7 separate regions of the Homo sapiens genome follow, and regions 1, 2, 3, 5, 6 and 7 are each linked to region 4. The links are contacts of gene promoters, found by promoter capture Hi-C in blood cells and fetal thymus (Javierre and others, 2016). All regions are on one chromosome and are shown on one strand. The core of a region is centred on a gene start or on the middle of the fragment in contact, and the rest is flanking DNA. Distances in the headings are between cores, read along the strand shown. Region 1 overlaps LOC105379129 (a long non-coding RNA gene). Region 2 overlaps STARD4-AS1 (STARD4 antisense RNA 1). Region 3 overlaps CCDC112 (coiled-coil domain containing 112). Region 4 holds the start of YTHDC2 (YTH N6-methyladenosine RNA binding protein C2). Region 5 overlaps PGGT1B (protein geranylgeranyltransferase type I subunit beta). Region 6 overlaps PGGT1B (protein geranylgeranyltransferase type I subunit beta). Region 7 overlaps PGGT1B (protein geranylgeranyltransferase type I subunit beta).

The links. The method cuts DNA at HindIII sites, captures the fragments that hold promoters and counts their contacts. A CHiCAGO score of 5 or more calls a contact.
Region 1: a contact is called between a fragment that was not itself captured here and the fragment with the promoter of YTHDC2 in region 4, in 2 of 17 cell types (naive B cells and total B cells). The highest score is 5.9, in naive B cells.
Region 2: a contact is called between a fragment that was not itself captured here and the fragment with the promoter of YTHDC2 in region 4, in 1 of 17 cell types (naive B cells). The highest score is 6.3, in naive B cells.
Region 3: a contact is called between a fragment that was not itself captured here and the fragment with the promoter of YTHDC2 in region 4, in 1 of 17 cell types (total B cells). The highest score is 6.0, in total B cells.
Region 5: a fragment that was not itself captured here is called in contact with the fragment with the promoter of YTHDC2 in region 4 in 1 of 17 cell types (activated CD4 T cells); the score reaches 6.6 in activated CD4 T cells.
Region 6: a fragment that was not itself captured here is called in contact with the fragment with the promoter of YTHDC2 in region 4 in 1 of 17 cell types (naive CD8 T cells); the score reaches 5.8 in naive CD8 T cells.
Region 7: a fragment that was not itself captured here is called in contact with the fragment with the promoter of YTHDC2 in region 4 in 2 of 17 cell types (fetal thymus and non-activated CD4 T cells); the score reaches 6.2 in fetal thymus.

Annotation. Positions count from the first base shown.
Region 1 is chr5:115,301,248-115,303,947 of GRCh38, reverse strand. The region is part of intron 1 of LOC105379129 (a long non-coding RNA gene); the gene reads right to left. Among named protein-coding and RNA genes, the nearest start is that of CCDC112, 5.9 kb to the right of the region's middle. The HindIII fragment of the contact is 779 bases long and covers 931-1,709 here.
Region 2 is chr5:111,527,710-111,530,409 of GRCh38, reverse strand. The region is part of intron 1 of STARD4-AS1 (STARD4 antisense RNA 1); the gene reads right to left. Among named protein-coding and RNA genes, the nearest start is that of STARD4, 17 kb to the right of the region's middle. RefSeq lists an enhancer at 1-366. The HindIII fragment of the contact is 5,472 bases long and covers 1-2,700 here.
Region 3 is chr5:115,280,766-115,283,465 of GRCh38, reverse strand. All of the region lies in intron 2 of CCDC112 (coiled-coil domain containing 112), which reads left to right. Among named protein-coding and RNA genes, the nearest start is that of CCDC112, 15 kb to the left of the region's middle. The HindIII fragment of the contact is 3,968 bases long and covers 1-2,700 here.
Region 4 is chr5:113,512,420-113,515,119 of GRCh38, reverse strand. YTHDC2 (YTH N6-methyladenosine RNA binding protein C2) reads right to left here and starts at 1,426. Exons shown (of 30, transcript NM_022828.5): 1 at 1,038-1,426. The coding sequence starts at 1,224. LOC124901046 (a long non-coding RNA gene) reads left to right here and starts at 1,462. Exons shown (of 2, transcript XR_007058905.1): 1 at 1,462-1,689; 2 at 2,180-2,700. RefSeq lists a silencer at 941-1,170 and enhancers at 1,123-1,624, 1,621-1,670. The HindIII fragment of the contact is 3,291 bases long and covers 1-2,700 here.
Region 5 is chr5:115,235,845-115,238,544 of GRCh38, reverse strand. It overlaps PGGT1B (protein geranylgeranyltransferase type I subunit beta), which reads left to right. Exons shown (of 9, transcript NM_005023.4): 4 at 536-687; 5 at 2,023-2,155. Among named protein-coding and RNA genes, the nearest start is that of PGGT1B, 26 kb to the left of the region's middle. The HindIII fragment of the contact is 931 bases long and covers 810-1,740 here.
Region 6 is chr5:115,212,964-115,215,663 of GRCh38, reverse strand. All of the region lies in intron 8 of PGGT1B (protein geranylgeranyltransferase type I subunit beta), which reads left to right. Among named protein-coding and RNA genes, the nearest start is that of TRIM36, 44 kb to the right of the region's middle. The HindIII fragment of the contact is 407 bases long and covers 1,159-1,565 here.
Region 7 is chr5:115,254,995-115,257,694 of GRCh38, reverse strand. The region is part of intron 1 of PGGT1B (protein geranylgeranyltransferase type I subunit beta); the gene reads left to right. Among named protein-coding and RNA genes, the nearest start is that of PGGT1B, 6.5 kb to the left of the region's middle. The HindIII fragment of the contact is 3,451 bases long and covers 1-2,700 here.

The DNA of each region.
Region 1 (2,700 bases), core at 71-2,570, 1.8 Mb before region 4:
AATGTAGAGTATTTTTTTTTTCCAAAAAACTGACAATGAAATGGAATAGAAAAAATAGAAGGCTGTGACTTGACTCACATATTGGTCGTGAAACAACACTGAGTTATATGGTGCAGATGAGAGCCAGGCCTAAACAAAGTGATTCTAAAATGTTGAAACTACAAGGCTGGGCAAAGGCGTACCAGAATAAATGTGAACAAAAAGGAATCACCAGACAGTGATTTTAAATATAAGATTGAATTCAGGGCAAAAATAATTAAACAGGAAGTATACTTTACAATAATAACAGGTGTAATCCACAATGAAAATCTAAGTTATATATTCTATACCCTAAATAACGCAGCATCAACATTCATTAGAAGGACTACAGGAGATACAAGAAGAAAAAATAGAAACATAAGTATCAGAAGACTAAGACAGATTAAGAATTCAAAAAATTAAGTGAAGATTGGGAGGGAATATAATAATGTGCAGTAAAACTGACTATAAAATATTTTCAAATAGTATTTTAATAATATGTAGACTTAGAGGAAAAATAGGCTTGCACCCAAGCCTATTTTTATGAACCTTATGAACCAAGAAACAAGAACAATTAAAAAGACAGGTTGGTATGGCAGGCAATGCTAGCAACTAACCCACTCATCCTCATAATAACCCCAATAAAGTATATTTTCAGGATGCTTTGTAGCTAGGGGTGGCTGTGTGATTCAGTTATAGTCAATGATACCTAAAAGGGGGGCATTGGGTAGGGAGGACTCATAGGAAAGCTTTTTTAAATGTGGCAGGTCTGCTGTCATCCTCCTTTTGCTCTTTGCCTTTGTAGCAACACATTGTAGATGTCCTGCCTCTGAGTTCACCCATCTACACTGATGGCCTCCACCTGTGTCCATGCTGTTCCGCTTCTTGACCTAACAGCTTTCTCTAGAAGCTTGTTTAGCCATTGTATGGGCAGCCTATAAAAGCTGGTGTTTAATGTCCCCACAGCAACGCTCAACGAGTGAGGTTTGGGATTTGGTAGATAGATAACTCAGCTTTCCCACCCCTTAGTAGGGAAACTCTGAGGACAGTCCTATAAGATTCCTCAGAGGTCCCCAGCTGGAGTGAGGCCCAGTTGCCCACAGCACTAACCACTAAAACACCCTCTGTTGGCTTTTCTCCCTTTCCTATTTCACTTTCTCGACGCTGTCACTTGGCTTCTTGAGATCACCTCCCAAACAACCTATCTCCTGTACCCAAGTCCTTGTCTCATGATCTAATTTCATGGGAACCCAAACTATGAAAGCCCTTTTCCTTCTTCCTGTCTAGAATGTAAGTCTGAGAATTGGATAGAAAGAGATAGCATGATATCTATTTTCAGAGAGTATATACTATAAATGGAAACCCTAAGATAATCATTCTAAAAATAATATCAAAATTAAGAAAAATGACCCAAGTAGCAATAAAGAAAAGCGATTGTCTTTATATATTCAAAGAAAAATAAGCTAGAAGATATAAAGGAAGAGGAAATCCAGCTTACAGTTGCAGTAAATATTGTTAAACTCAAGAATAAACTTAAAATCTTTAATTTTCAAAGATGCAAAAGTGGACTAGAACAAATGTAAACAAATGTAAATATGCTTTGTTCGTGGATAGGACAACGGCACCTCATACACATATTAATTCTTTCCAAGTTAATAAATTTAATGTGATTCTAATGAAAATGCCAAGCTTTTTTCCCCAAAGTAGACTATTGATTCAAAGTTTCTGTGGAAAATGAGCAAGCAGGGAAAGCTAAGAAAACTCTGGAAAAGAAGAATGAGAGAAACTAGTCCAATAAGCTATTAAAACATTTCATAAAGTCCTTATAATTTAAAAAGCATCTATTCATTAATACATAAGTAGACCGATACAATGATAGAAGAGAATAGAAAAATTCAGGAGAAATAGGACAATTATATACGAAAAGTTAAGTGGCACCAAAAATTACCACTAAACATATGCTTTTAAAGAATAATGTCGAAATAACTGGATAGTCATTTGGGTAAAAGTAAAAATTGGGTCCACATTTCACACTGAATATCAGAAAGAAATCCAAATAATCCAGATATATAAATGTGAAAGGTGAAACCACAGAAGAAAACAGGAATTCACTTCATTATAAACTTGGAGTGAGAAACGCCTTTCTAGAGATGATTATAAATCCCAAAGCACTGAAAAAAATAATAAAAGACTGACAAATTTGACTACATAAAAATAAAAAGAACTTGCTCAAAGCAAAAAAAGGAAAAGTCATAAAACAAATTTAAAACCTGAAAGAAATATTTGCAATTTATACCACAAAATATATCATAATCTCCTAATTAACAAACAGTTCTTAAAAACTGGGAAGAAAGGCACCAAATACCAGTTGGGAAAAGATGTAAAGAGACAGTTAAAAAAAAAAAAAGCAAGCAATTGTCCTTAAACTTATGAAAAAGGCTGACCTTCCTCATAATAACATAAAGGCATACAGACATCCCTCAGAAACATTGCAGGAAATATTACACACAAATTTAAGGTTTCCAAGTGCATATAAAAGTTATGTTTACACTATACTGCAGTCTATTAAGTGTGTAATAACATTGCATCTAAAAAAGCAATGTACATACCTTAATTTTAAAATACTTTATTGCTAAAAATGCTAACAATCATCTGAGCCTTCAGTGAATTATAATATTTTTT
Region 2 (2,700 bases), core at 116-2,615, 2.0 Mb after region 4:
GTCAGCAGAAGGATGTGATGAGGCGGAGAATGGGGGCACTCGCGTGGGGACAGAGGAAAGGCAGGAAGGTCAGATTGGGCCATGTTGTTCATGTACGATCTTCATGTCAGATGAAGAAGTTAGATCTTTAGCTCAACGGTTATATGGAACTATTGAGAGTTTAAAAATGATATTTATAGCCTTTATAATTTTTCAAAGCAAGTGTGCCCACTGTGAAATATTTGGAAACCAAGGAAGACACAAAGCTAAAAGACTATCTGTAACTCTCTCTTTGTTAATATTTGGAATATATCTTTCAGTCTTCATACCACACACATAAATTTTCCCCCAAAACAATATTTACTGTATTTTATATAATAATTATAGAGTATTTTAATGTTTCGGTTTTGTCATTTATTATAGTACATGTCTATTATAAATAAATAACAAAATAGAAGCAAAAACACTAAAAGCAAAACTAAAATTATAAAAATTCTAGGCTCTTACTATTATTTTTATTGTATATGTGTATGTGTATATATGCATCCTTTTGAAAAAATATAGATCCCGTTAAAAAATAGAATAATAATTTACCTACTGTTTAAGACCCTATACTCTTCTCTTAATATATCAGGAAAATCTCGATATGTTGACATGTGCATTTTTATAGCAAAATTTAATACCTGCATCCTATACAAAATAATTTATACGATCTCATATTTTTAAATTGCCTTTATGTCTTTGTTGAAAATCAGTTAATTATGTAAGTATAGGTCTATTGCTGGGCTATTTCATTGACCTATTTGTCTATCTTGATTGAATATCATAATTTTGATCAATGTAACTTTATACCAAGATGTGAAGACAGGAAGTAAAAGTTAGATAACTTAGTTCTTCTTTTTAAAAGTTGTTTTGGCTATTCTATGCCCTTTGCATTTCCACATGAATTTTAGAGTTAGCTGTCAACATCTACAGATGAGCCTGCTGAGATTTTAATTGGGATTTCATTATATCTGTAGATCAAATAGGGAGAATTGATATTTTAGTCATGTTTATCCAAACACATGCCATTTATCTCTATTTACTTAGACTTTAATTTCTCTCATTATGTTTGCTAGTTTGCAATATACAGGCCATGTTCATTTTTTTCATATTTATCCCTAATATGCATATTTAATGGCATGTTTTTATGCCAGTATAAATGGTATTATGTTAATTTTAATTATGTATGTATGTATGTACCTAGTATATAGAAACAGACTTGATTTTTTATATTGATCTTGCATCTCCCAACTTTGTTAAACTCACTTATTAGATGTAATACATATATATAAATTCCATAGGGTTTTCTAGGTAGATGATCGTTTCATCTGTGGATAAAGAAAATTTTATTTTCTTATGTCCAATCTGGATATCTCTTATTTCTTTTTCTTGACTGGCTGGACTGGCTAAAGCCTCCAGGACAATGTTGAATAGAAGGGAGAGAGTAGACATCCTTGCCTGTTTCCTCATATTAGGGGAAAACATTTCATCTTTCATCATTAATAAGACGCTAACAGTACAGTTTCGTAGATGCCCTTGATCAGGTTGGGGTTGTTCCTTTTATTCCTATTTTGCTGACTGTTTTTATTGGGATTAGATTTTGGGCATTTGTCAAATGCTTTTTCGTCATCTCTTTTTTTTTTTTCCCCAGTCTGTCAACATGGTGAATTACATTGATTGTTTTTCAAATGTTAAATTAACCTTGCATCCCTGAGATAAACCCGACTTGGTCATGATGTATTATCCTTTTAATAAATTGTTTATTATTTTATTTGTTATAATTTGGTAAGAATTGTTGTCTCTCCGTTCGTGAGGAATAACGTTCTGTAGTTTTCTTATAATATCTTTTTCTGGCTTTAATGTAATAATGCTGGCCTCGTGGAATGAGTTGGGAAGACTTCAATTTTCTGGAAGAGTTTGGGTTGCAAGGCTATTATTTCGTCCTTAAATGTTTCATAGAATTCACCAGTGAAGACATCTGAAAATGGAATTTTCGTGGAAAGTTTTAAAGCTCTAAATTTAATTTCATTCATTGATATAGTGCTCTTCAGGTTATCTATTTCTTCATGAATGAGCTTAGTAGAATAGTTTGTATCTTTTAAGGAACTTGAAATTCTTTTTTCTTAAGGTGGAAGCTGATGTCATTGACTTGAGACTTCTTCTTTTTTAATTTAGATATTTAGAGCAAAAATTTCCTTATGATTACTGCCTTAGTCGTAAACAATAGATTTTCATATGTCTTTTTTATTTTCATTCAGTTTTTAAAAATCTTAATTTTTTGTTTATTTCTTTTTTGACTCATGGGTTATTTAGCAGTGTGTAATTTTCTTTCTAAATATTTGAGTTTTGTCCAGATTACTTTACTGATTTCTAATTTAATTCTATTGTGGTCAGATAATATACTTTGAATGTCTTTTGTCAGGCTTCTTGATTGGAAATGGAAATTTAATCACGTATTTTTGGACTTGCAGTTTCTAATTTTTATGCTACTAAAAACAATTCTTAGATGAAGATGAACTTGGGTTCTTTTTACCCTTTCTTTTTTATTTTCTTAAAAGTCTCAGAAACAAAAGTTTTGAATCAAAGAGTATATAGTTCCTTCTCTAGAATTTATATATACTGTTACATGCCTTGTTTCATGTTTATATTCAATAATTTGCAAATATTTTCTTCAGATCA
Region 3 (2,700 bases), core at 183-2,682, 1.8 Mb before region 4:
AATATTTAAGATCAACTTTCTTAGAAAAGTGAGCTGAGATTTTCATTATGTTAAGTGAAATAAGCCATACACAGAAAGACAGACAATGCATGATCTCATTTATATGTGGAATCTTAAAAAAGTCAAACTCAGAAACAGAGAATAGAATGGTGATTACCAGGAGTCTGGGGGTGATGAGGTGGGAGTGGGGATAATGGGGAGATGTTGGTCAAAGGGTACAAGTTATAAAATAGAAAAGATCTAGAGACCTAATGTACAGCATGGTGAGTATAGTTAATAATAACGTATTGTATGCTTGAAGTTGCTAATACATATATCTTTAGTATTCAGAATTTGAAAAAATACAGTTCTTTAAAATATCCAAAATGCATTACTCTAGATAGAATTAGATTCTAGGTTAGAGGTTCTGTTTTATGTTTCTTTCTAGATAGGGTAATGTCCACCAAATGGTTAATATCCATAGATGCAGCAACCAGTGTGTTTTACAGTTCTGAGAAGGCTTCTTCATCTGTTTTAGGGCATTGGAAAAACTCACTGAAAGAATATTAGAAAAACTCATTGTAAGAGTGTTTCTATCTAACAATTCACATAAACACAAACGAAAAACCACAATCTATAATATCTTTTTTTAAATTTTTAAAATAGGTAATATATTTACATGGTTCAAGAATCAAAACAAATCAAAGGGTACCCAGTGGAAAGTCTCAGTTTTACTCTTCATCCAAGCCACCCAGTTCCTTTCCACTCAGATAACCCACTAGTTTTGGTTTCTTATGTATCCTTCCCCAGATATTTTATGTGTTTATAAAGAAATATATATTCAGATTTTTCCTTTTTTGTATAAATGGTAGCATACCGTCCACATTGCTCTGCATTTTTTTTTAAAGTGTATGTCTTAGATAACAAGGAATTGTAGATTTTGCTAGGCACAATAATGGCATTATAGTTAGGTAAGTCAAATATCAGTACTCTCTAGAGGCACACACAAAAGTTTGTTGGGGTGAAATTGCATAATGTGATGGATTTACTTGAAAATACTTAAGCTAAGCTAAGCAAAGCAAAGGTAGATGTAATGGATCTACTTGAAAATACTTAAACTGAGCAAAGCAAAGATAGATGGATAGATGAAATGAGAGGTAAAACTGCTGAATCAGGGTGAGATAAAATTCATATCATATGATGGGTGTCAATTTACCATTCTGTACTTTTGAATATGTCTAACATTTTCCTACAAAAACTTTGTTTAAAAAAGAGGTTATCTTGGAGATCTTTTCCTGTCAGTACGTAGAACAGAGTACCACTGTATCATATTCCAGTGTATGAATGTAATATGATTTATTTAACCTGCCCATATTTATGGACATTTAGGTTATATTCAATCTTTTTTTAATAACAAACAGTGCTGCAATTAATTACCATACCCACATAGGTCAACATTATTTGTTTGTAAGTATATCTTCAGGATAAATTCCTAAAAGGAAATACTGGGTCAGAGATAAATGAATTTACAAATGTGATAAATATTGCTAAATTGCCCTCCGTAGACAACAGTTCCACCAACAATGTATGAGAAGACATGTTTTCCTCACAGTTTTGTCAACAAAATATATTAAATTTGTGATTTTTTTGCCAATATGATAGGTGTGCAGTGTTACTGTGATATAGTTTTAATTTGCATTTCTTCTATTGAGGAGGTTGTTTTCATTTTTGTCGACTTGTCTCCATTAATTAGCATATTTTGAATATCCTTATAGGTTAATATTTCTAATCCAGGAAAAACAGAAAGTAAGTTGAGTTTGTGATGAACTAAAAACTGTTGAGTGATATAAAGTTGTAGCATATCCTGTGTCCATGGCAGACGTTTCTTTTTATCATAGTAATTTTCCCCATCTGCAACCAGAGCCTAGATGAACTTCCCAGTCCTCAACACAGGACTCAGTCCATTAGAGTTGCCAGGTGGGACTGAAATCTATTTGATATCTTTATCTACCCATTATTTCTTCTCACAAACAATAGAAGCTACCTAAACACACATGCTAAGACATGATCCCCTCAGCCTCTGGAGAAGTGTGGTGGGCTCTGGGGCAGTCTCATCTGTCTACCCCCATGTGTCTTATGAATATTAAATTTTTCTCTATGGGCGGTCAGATGCGGTGGCTCATGCCTGTAATCCCAGCATTTTGGGAGGCCAAGGAGGGAAGATTACTTGAGGTCAGGAGTTTGAGACTAGCCTGGCCAACATGGCGAAATTCTGTCTCTATGAAAAATACAAAAATTAGCCAGTCATGGTGGCAGGCGCTTGTAGTCCCAGTTACTCGGGAGGCTGAGGCAGGGGAATTGCTTGAACCAGGGAGGCGGAGGTTACAGTGAGCTGAAATCGCACCACTGCACTCCAGCCTGGGTGACAGAGCGAGAGTCTGTCTCAAAAAAAAAAAAAAAATTCTCTATGTATGGCAAAGTGGAAAAGATTGGGAAACTCTACGGTATAGATAGTTGCCTCTCAGGTTGTGTGAATTAAGTAAATGGCCAGTGATGCTCCACCACTTATTAAATCCAAGATTAGTGGAGAAATATTCATATTAATTTCCACCTGGGAGAAAGAAACACATTAAGAAAATTAATTTTGGCTGGGCATGATGGCTCACGCACTTTGGGAGGCCGAGGTGGGCAGATCACTTGAGCTCAGGAGTTCAAGACCAG
Region 4 (2,700 bases), core at 177-2,676:
GTAAATTAATAAAATTAAGATATTTTATTAATTCAATAACTACTGAATGTCTATCAGAATTCTGATATTAATAAAAAGACAGCTATGTATTAAACCTAAATGTGATAAAGGCCTCTGATATTCACCAAAAACGACTCCTCTTACTTGTTCTGGAATTTTGAGTTGGTATAATGACTGAACATATTTAACTTGGTCCCTACTTGTTTAGTTAACAAAATGTTTATTTTCTTCAATGATGAGATATGTTCAAATATTATGAATTCTCAACATGAAACTCCATTGTCTTTGCTTTCAAAACTGTACAGAATTCGTATTTCACTATTTCAGAGGGATTTGTTATATATTGCTGAGGCTTTCTCTTTTTTTAATGTGAATTTAGAATCTCTCTGTCTAGAACATTCCCCGTTTTGGACTATAAGATTCCAGAGTAAGAGGTCCCCTAACTAAGCCAGCAGGTCCGAATGAGCCCTCAACAGACTGCACAGGTCACCGCAGGTCAGTTGCTGGTTCTGCATTATATGACCCAAGACAAGTGGCTATCTAACCTCAAGAGGTGTGGAAGATGCTTCGTGTGCCAAACAAGTTTAATTTAAGTGGGTAGCGTGATGCTTCAGGGTCCAAACGTATTGCTGGTGCATTTATTTATATGTTTGATTTCTTTCTGCTCTTCTACATCTGTAGCTTAAACGTGCCACAATTAGGTGACACCCCCTTAAAAAGGGTTAGGGCTAACCAATATCTGAAACACGGTGGCTTAACCGCCCAAGGCTGCTGAAAGACGCGGGGGAAAAACACTTTCAGCTAGGGAGCAAAGTGCCCATAACCCCATTGATCCGCAGAGCACCTCGCATTCCACCGCAGGGCCAACAGCCGCGTTCCAGACCCGGGTGCCGCCGCTGAGGCCCGCCCCGGACGGTGGCCCGGGTCTTCCCTCCCTCTTCGGAGGCACCCCCATCACTCGGTGGGCCGCCGTTTGGGGGGCGCTGGGGTGAGGGGGGTATCCTGACTGCCAGCATGGTCCCTGTCCGGAACCTCACCTCTCTGGTCCCCGTATCGGAAGCGCTCCAGCGCGATATTGACTGCGATCTTCACCTCCTCATCAATGCGAATGTCCTTCAGCCCCTTGGCCCGGCCGCCGCCCCCAGGGCCACAAGGCGAGGGGCCGCCGCCTCCGCCACCGCCAGGAGCCGGCTGCCGCGGGGAGACGCTGCTCGGCCTGGACATTGCCCTGAAGAGATGGTCTCTCCGCACGGGAGCGGCCAGGCCTGCTAGCTGACAGCCAATGACAAAGACCGTGGGAATCCGGGGCCACTACCGGGAAGCTCCGGAGACGGCCTGTGTTGGGCTGAGGTCACCAGAAAGGCCTCAGTCACCGCCACAGCAGAAGTGAAGCCTGCGCCATTGATATCACGGCCAGGCGAGGAGCGCGGGCGTAATGACGTCACCAGGGCCGGCGCCCGTGACCTCAGCGCGGCCGCCGCTGCGCGCCTAAAGGAGGCTGTCTGCGGAGCTATGGTGCGGTTCTCTTCCCGCGCCGCCCACCAAGGGTCGCTCCTCATCTTCTTATTCACTCACTTGCTACTTCGTTTAGTCCTTCATTAATTCCTGCAGTAAGCATGTATGGGCTTCTACTGTGGACCTGGCATTATGCCACGCCTTCGATGTACATTGGAGAACCAGAGAGCCAAGGTTCCTACCTTCATGGAGTTTATATTTTAGTGGGAGGAGGGTTGCCAGATTTAGCAAATAAAAATACAGAATGCTTAATAATTTGCATTTCAGATAAACGAATAATTTTTAGTGTATATATTTCCCATGCAATATTTGGAAAAATATCATAAAAAATACATATACTAAAGAATGAGCCACTGTTGTGTGTCTTGCATTCTTCCCTTTTCTGAATGGGAGATTTTAATGCAAGTATGCCACCCTTGCTCTATCACGCTACACAGGGTAGCTGAGTGGGGGCAGGTATGTAGTACATATTTACATAGTTCATGAGTTACCTGGCAATGAGGATATACATCTGGATCTAATAAAGAGGACTGTGTATCAACAACAGATCCTGGATGCAGTGACTAGATAGAATTCCAGGTGTCTGGGGAGGGTATATGTGTATTCTGTGTGTGGTAAGAAGGGGGCGGAATATTTGGTGACAAGAAGTATCTTTTCTTCCTAGGCATTATATTTCCCAACTCTCCTGCAGTTAGCTGGGGGCCACATGGCTGAGTTCCGGCCATTGGAATGTTGCTGGAACTGATGTATACCACTTCCAGGATTGGTCTATAACACCTTCCTTGAATCTTCCCTTCTCTGTCTTTCCTGGTCTTCTGGAAGTTCTTAGACAACGGTGGAACCACTAGATAGATAACAGGTTCCCGATTCCCTGAACGAGTGTGATAGAGTGTCCTCACCAACCCACATTGGAATATGACATGGGTAAGAAATAATTCTTAGTTGTGGTAAACTGCTGAGATTTGGGAAGATTTTTTTTTGTAACATTATGGTAAATTGTTGAATTCATCAAAGGTATGGCCTTTGATGAATCACACATTCCTCTGTTCACACCCTTGTATTCTTCCTTCCCACATGGACTCTGTCTTTGGCTATGTAACTTGCTTTGGCCATTGGGACATCAGCAAATACGAGATAAGCAGGGGCTTGAAAGGTGTTTGTGCATTAAGGCTTAGCCTGTTTTGC
Region 5 (2,700 bases), core at 26-2,525, 1.7 Mb before region 4:
TATATGCTTTTCTGACTTTATAAGACTTAAATTATAAGTGATAGCGTGATTAAGTTTGAGGTTTAAATAATTTAGCCAGGCATGGTGGTTTGTGCCTGTTGTAGTCCCAGCTACTCTGGAGGCTGAGGCCGGAGAATCACTTGAGCCCAGGAGTTGGAGACTGCAGTGAGCTATGATTGCACCACTACAGTCCAGCCTGGGTGACAGATAAGACCCTGTTACTAAAAAAAAAAAAAAAAAAAAAAAAAAAAAATCCAAAAAAATAAGTAATACATAATTTGCTTTACCTGAATATCATAACTACTTCCATAATGCCTGAGGTATCAAAGAATTTAAAGATTAAGTAGCCTGTGCAATCATATTCATATTGAGACATACATAAAATGGAGATTTGTTTTTCTCAATAAGATGTCTATACAAATCAGTATAAGCCATATTTAATTTTACTATTTACTAAAACCTTATGTCAGATTTCTTAATGAAATAAGTTTTCATTTCACTTCATTAATTAGTACTATATTAATTTTGTATTTAGGCTCCTGGAACAGCTCATCCTTATGATAGTGGCCACATTGCAATGACCTACACTGGCCTCTCATGCTTAGTTATTCTTGGAGACGACTTAAGCCGAGTAAATAAAGAAGCTTGCTTAGCGGGCTTGAGAGCCCTTCAGCTGGAAGATGGGAGGTATGAGTGATTCTTTGTTACTTTTTTTGTAATAAACAAAAATATATTGGAACTAAAAAATGGATACAGTACTATACTAGATCTTTAGAGGATCATACTCTATTAGAACCCCACCTAAAGCTTACGAGGTACATAATTAAGTGCATAGTCAAAAAAGTGACCTCAGATTTCCTCTGTGAGTGAAAATAATAGTAATTACAATAGCCAAACACCTTTATCTTCCTTCTTAATAACAATGGGTACATAAATAAATGGTTGAATAATTTCAGGATTGGAATCTAATTTACATTCTAGATGAAAAATTGATATTTTGAAGTACGCATACATTTAGTCTGGACCTCAGTTCCTTGCTTTATGGTGATTAGGGAAGAAAGGGGTGAACACTGAATATTGTATTCCAGAGTAGGTAGTTTCCATGACATTTTTAAAGGATAGAAAAAGGAGTTCGTATGTTCATTGATATTTGGTGATTCACATAGTGTGTCTAAAGATGAATCTTCCTGGAGCTTTAAGGTAGAAAAAAAATTTTAAGTCTGAGAAGCGATAAAGCAGTAGTGAAAAGATTAAGGAAAAGACTGCAAACAAATCCTGCTGTGCTGTTAACTCTTTGTGCTCCATCTACTAATAGCTCTGTTTTCCCGTCAGTGTTTTCAAAACACTGCTCTTGATGAGGGAAAAATAAATGTAGACAAGTAGAATAAATTGACATTAATTGGAAACCCTATGAAACTAAATATTTACTTCATCCAGTACATATATGACTTATGTCTCAATATTTCAGTGTAGTCTTTGATTATTGCTTCCTTATTCTTGTTTATAAATACATACACAACATAGATTGCTGCCTCTCTACAACTAATATGTAAAATTAAAATACAATATGATCAATCGATTAAATGGTTATCTGTGTATACATTTAGAAGAAATTTCACATAGAAAAACTTGGGCTTGGAAATTTCGTATACCCAGTAGGTCTCAGGTTTTACCTTTTACTTTTTCTGCCATTCTCAAGCCAGTATACTGCAGCTGTCCCTGGCTAGGATCAAATAAGCTTATGCTGAGTAAGCATCCAGGAGGGAGTAACATGGTAGTGTGTAAAAATACCAAGAAGTCAAAAGTTTGTAGTAGAATGATGATTTAGAGAAAGTTTTATATTATTCAAGTTAGTAGTCTTATTCTTTATTGAATAATAAAAGTAGAATATTGAATAATAAAAGTAGAATAATCAACAGATTTTTCTGTTAGTAAAGACAAGCAGGAGGTGTTTCTAACCCCCATGCAAAAAAATCAGAGTCCAGTGTTAATAGAAAATCATATTGTTGTTATTATTTTCAGTTTTTGTGCAGTACCTGAAGGCAGTGAAAATGACATGCGATTTGTGTACTGTGCTTCCTGTATTTGCTATATGCTCAACAACTGGTCAGGCATGGATATGAAAAAAGCCATCACCTATATTAGAAGGAGTATGGTGAGTTCTGTTGATAAAATTGACTATTTAGGTTGTTTTTGCTGGTACATGAGGGCTGTATTATAGTGTATGTCTCATCTCTTCCGCCAACAATTTGTAAATAAGAGCATTAAGATTGCTTTTTGGTAAATTGTGTATCAGAACACAATAAAGAAATAATCTTAAAGTGCAGATTGACTCCTTGGCCATTAAAATTTAATATGATTTTATTTAAAGAAGCAGTATCTTTATAAGAAAGGGATTGGTTGACTTAAAAGAAAAATAAGTAAAATCTGAAAGTCGAATATTGACAGCCTATTCTAGCAGGAGTTAGTAGAGAGTCCTGACACGCAAACTGGAAGATTATGTTATCTTTGGTGAGACTATTTCTCTCATCTTTTTATTGGCATTAGTAAGGAAAGCTTAGTCTTAGCCAGAACTATCCTTTGCTCTACTGTGTCATCTCTGTATAAAAGGAGAAATAAAACTTCTGCATTCCAGGTTTATTATTTCCCAAATATGAAGTTTTTCATTTTATAGATTATTTTGAGGCTGTTAGAATATTT
Region 6 (2,700 bases), core at 113-2,612, 1.7 Mb before region 4:
GAAATGAGCAGGAATATTTCCTTACACCCCTACTTGCCTATATTTTCATATAAAACATGCTTCCTAGGCCAGGAGTTTTGGCTCACGCCTGTAATCCCAACAGTTTGGGAGGCTGAGGTGGGCGGATCACTTGAGGCAAGGAGTTTGAGACTAGCCTGGCCACATGGTGAAACATTGCCTCTACTAAAAATACAATAATTAGCCAGGCGTGGTGGTGGGTGCCTGTAATCCCAACTACTTGGGAGGCTGGGGCAGAAGAATTGCCTGAACCTGGGAGGCAGAGGTTGCAGTGAGCCAAGGTCACACCACTGCACTCCAGCCTGGGCAACAGAGCAAGAGTACATCTCAAAAAATAAAATAAAATAAATGGCCGGGTGCAGTGGCTCACGCCTGTAATCCCAGCTTTGGGAGGCTGATGCTGGTGAATCACTTGAAGTCAGGAGTTGAAGACCAGCCTGGTCAATATGGCGAGACCCCGTCTCTACCAAAAATACAAAAATAGCCAGGCATGGTGGTGCACACCTGTAGTCCCAGCTACTCAGGAGGCTGAGGCAGGAGAATTGCTTGAACCCAGGAGGTGGAGGTTGCAGTGAGCCAAGATCTCACCATTGCACTCCAGCCTGGGCGACAGAGCGAGACTCTGTCTCAATCAATCAATCAGTAGTAAAACATGTCTTCTTAGAGAAAGTGTACATTGCTTTCAAAGTCGTAAGCCAAAGTGTGTCTTCAGAAGTTAATTTCTCAAGCAAAATAATATCTTGAAATTTTTGATATCTCTAGTGCCTCAAAACTGAGAATTATTTTGGTCTTCATTCCATTTTTTAAACCAGTGCAGGGTACTGTTTTAACAAATAATGGGAGTAGGGAAATGACAGTCTCTTAGGAAACATTTCTTGTATAAACATACTTGAAATACATTCAGTGTTTCCAATAGCTTTTTTAAAAGAAAGTTCTTGAGGCTTTTTCCGGAGAGTTCAGTTGCTAACTTTAACATTTGTGTAAATATTTGGATGTACTACTTACTTTTTACAGATACATTACAATGTTTTCAGAGTATGCAATAGAAAGCATAGAAGGGCTTTGCTAAATTGAATTTATGTGTAAAGATCTGGTCCCAGAATCTTTAATCATTTTAACAAGATTCTTTAAAATTAAGCTTATTCTTCATTCTAGTGAATTTAGTGGCAAATTTGATACAAAGGGATTTTATATACATTTATGAAAGAAACTTCAAAAGAATAACCTTTTATTGTGGAGTAAATATATATTTCAACATCTAAAGTGCTTTATTATGGAGTAAACATATAGTTCCACATCTAAAGTGCTTGTACGTTGCCACTTACAGATAAGGAGTTTTTTTAAAAACACAATTTGAGGCTTCAAACAATTGAGTTCTGATCTCATTGGCTGTTACAAAAATCTTTTTGAGAAACAAATAAGTTTTATTTGTTACTTTACCCAGAGAGATTTTAGTTTTACACAGTTCTATTTTATGTTATTATAGATATATATTTTCTGTTGTACTTTTTCCTAGAAAAGTTTCCTAGTTTCTAGAAAACAAAGCTTAATGTTGCTTTGTACCCTTTGTAGTTTTAGAATAACTATATGGATGTAATATGACAGGTGAAATCAAGTTTATTTTTTATAGTCTGAAAGTCAAAGGAAAGTGAGCCAGAAGAAACCTAAGTATTTTCTGAAAAGGCCTAAAAGGTGATCAACATGGGCCTCCATTAGTTAAATAACATTTTCACAATGGCATTGAGTAAGCACAGCTATTTGTCATTTCTGTTTTGAAAAATAAGTGATACTGTTGTAAGTAAAGCTTTTTCTTTAACTCTTTTGACAAAGTTTGATGTGGTAAGATGTGTTGAACTTTTTGTTGTTGTTGTTTTGAGACAGGGTTTCATTATTTTGCCCAGGCTAGAGTGCAGTGATATAATCATGCCTCACTGCAGCCTCAACCTCCCTAGGCTCAGGTGAGCCTCCCACCTCAGCCTCCCGAGTAGCCGGAACTACAGGCGCACGCCACCATACCTGGTAATTTTTGTATTTTTTGTAGAGATGGAGCTTCACCGTATTGCCCAGGCTGGTATCGAACTCCTGTGGCTCAAGGAATATGCCCTTCTCGGCCTCCCAAAGTGCTGGGATTACAGGTGTGAGCCACCACACCCAGCCTGTTTTGAACTTTAATAGCTCTTAAGGCCATAAATGTCGGCCAATTCAAAAATAGAAAAAAATTTTGACTGGTACAAAACTGTCTTTTTAATGTTCCTATAACTGCAAAGCTCTGAGCTCTTCAGAAGTCTACATAAGACTCCTAGGCAGGAATGGCCATGTGATTTCATTGGCCACTTTAATAGAAGAGGATCGCTGCCCCCTGAAAGATGGGAAACTAGTGAGCCAGTGCAGAATTGTCATGGTATGAGCACTCATATTATTTCAACCAAATAGAATGTGAGTTTGTTTTTATTGTCAGATCAGATATTTTTACAATGACTGACATTACCCTAAATAGGAGGATTAAATATGGCACAGCATTCCAGAATGGATTATTTTTGCATAAGCTCCTTTTATTTAACACAATGTTAGGATAGTACTGCATATGGTTTAGGAACTTTCAGAGGTAAAACGTGGAGCGAGGGATATTGCAACTTAGATTCAGAGTTTTGTTTTCGTTTTAAAGAAAAAAAAACTTAATGA
Region 7 (2,700 bases), core at 8-2,507, 1.7 Mb before region 4:
TTGCACCAGAAAGGGTCAGGACAAGGGATCCAAAGTTTGGGAATCTAGTCAACTCTCATAAATTAGTGTTTTCAGTATATTTCTTATATCAGTATGACTAAGTTCTTTTTTCCACTGTCCAGACTATAGACTGTTTTTCATTCTTTTTTTTTTTTTTTTTTTTTGAGATGGAGTTTTGCTATTGTTGCCCAGGCTGGAGTGCAATGGCACGATCTCGGCTCACTGCAACCTCAGCTCACTGTAACCTCCACCTACTGGGTTCAAGTGAGTCTCCTGCCTCAGCCTCCCTAGTAGCTGGGATTACAGGTGCCCACCACCACGCCTAGCTGACTTTTTGTATTTTTAGTAGAGATGGAGTTTCATCATGTTGGCCAGGCTGGTCTCGAGTTCCTGACCTCAGTTGATCCACCCGCTTTGACCTCCCAAAGTGCTGGGATTGCAGGAGTGAGCCACTGCGCCCATCCTTCTTGTTGTTCTTATTTAATCTTTGGGGTATGCGTGTCTTAAGCCTGGAATATTTGACATCTTTTGGAGACACTTAGGTTAACCCTCTTGTCTGTGAATTGATTCTTTGGTAAAGCAACTTGATTGGGGGTTGGGGGATGTTACTTTTTCATCCTTGTAAGATAAACTTCTTATACATATTGTTCAGAGTGAGAGAAGAGGGGTGAACAGAAAGATATTGTTTGCTTATTTACACTTCTCAGGCTGCAGATTCAGATTGAGTTCTAGGGAAAAGAAGAAACAGAATAAACAGATATTCTCTGAAAGAAGTAAAAAAGTAAAAATAACTTCATTGGCTTGATTTTAGGTGCGTGTGTTCGCACAATTACCCCTCTATACACCTGTGCTGAGTCAGGTTGCCCAGCAGTTTATTCCCAAGTAGAAGTCATCTAGGAACCATAAAACCCTACATTATACTATTTCTCTGGGAGGCCCACAGCCCAAAATTCCTTTGTGTTTTTTGTGGCTTGTTTTAATTCTCTCTCTTTCAGTTTTAGGACTACTTGAGAATTCTGATGTGATTGGAAGAGGAATGGTTTCCCAGACTATTTTAAAGGAGGCCAGATATTTGCCCCAAAGTGACTTATTGGTTCTGTCTGCCAAGCATTTCTGATGGGACCTCTTTTTATAAACATAAGCCATTCACCATAACTCTGTTACTCTCATAAACCTTATGGTCTCACCCTAAGTCTTCACCTATGAGTTGAAAATGCTGGACTTTCAGGAGCCCTTAATAATTAAGTATGCAAGATTTTAAAATACCATCACATGGCTGATTTCTTGTATTTGGCACTTACATGTAGAGTGCATTCATATCCAGGAGCAAGTAACATGACAAACAGATCATTCAGATAACGTATACAGATAAGAGTATGACCTTAAAGCAGGTTTTCTCAACCTCAGCACTATTAACATTTTAGGCCAGATAATTCTTGGTTGTATGGACCTGTCCTGTGCATTGTAGACATTTAGCAGCAGCCGTGGCTTTTACCCACTTGATGCCAGTAACTCCCTCCTCCACTGTGACAACCAAGAATGTTTGATTATGATATATTATGTTAGGGTCAGTGTTCCCAGTAGAGAACCACTGTTCTCAAACAGTGCTTCTGAAACCTGCCTGCACATTAAAATTACCTGGGAAGTTAAATACAAAAACAAACCGAAAGGGCCCAGACCCCACCTTACACCCATAGATTTGATTGTGAAGTAGGACCTTGATCTCTATGTTATGTTGGTGGTGTTTTGGTCGTTTGTTTTTAAGCAGATTCTAATGAGCAGTTTTTAAGCAGATTCTAATGAGAAGCACCCCTGTGGAGAATACCACTTTGGGACTTAGACTTCTTGAGTAGTTTTGATTGTCTAGTGTTGAAATTTCAAGTAAATTACTTGAATTTTTTGGGCTTTATATTCTTCAGTTAGAAAATCAAAGAGATGGACTAGATCATTTCTAAATTTCTTAATTTTGAAAAAAATGCCAACTTGTTTTTATAGCCTTTTGCATAAATTCTCTTACTACATAGCTTTTACTGACAGGAAGATCTTTGTTTTATCCATTGTCTGACCTCAAGTCCTTCATGTTTTCCTCCACTTTTGTCTCTGTCTTCTTTTTGCCCTTTTCCTTAATAACGCTTTAATAAACTGTATTAGTAGATGCTTAATTGTACCTGACTATAAATATAATCATTTACTTTATGTATTATATCAAAACCAAAAAACCCTGTTAGAGCTCTCCGGGAGGGTTAGATGTAGTATTGCAGGTCCTTTATTAGTTCAGTAAATATTTGAGTGCATACAAACAAAGTGGACCTTCTCTCATGAGACATAATTACCACCAAGGGCAGTGATTTTCACACTTTGTTGCTATTATGTAGAGGTTTTTCCCATGTCTAAAGGTTTATTGTGTTTGGAGAAGCACATTCCTCTGGGGAAAATGGTTACAACCAAGAGTCTATAGAAAAGGCCTGTAGTGTTATAGACTGTGATTAGATCCTAAAGTCGTTGTTACTCTTGTCCCTCCAAATCATGGCAAAGACCAAGGATAATGGCTTCCATTTATTGCGTGCTTATTGTGAGTAGGTAAGCACAATTACTGTATAAGGTATAGTAATGATTAAAATAATTATTGGAAGCTGATTAGAAAAGTTTAGGTATCCTGCCCAGAGTCATGTGGTCAGTCTAGTGAAATTGGCCAACTTG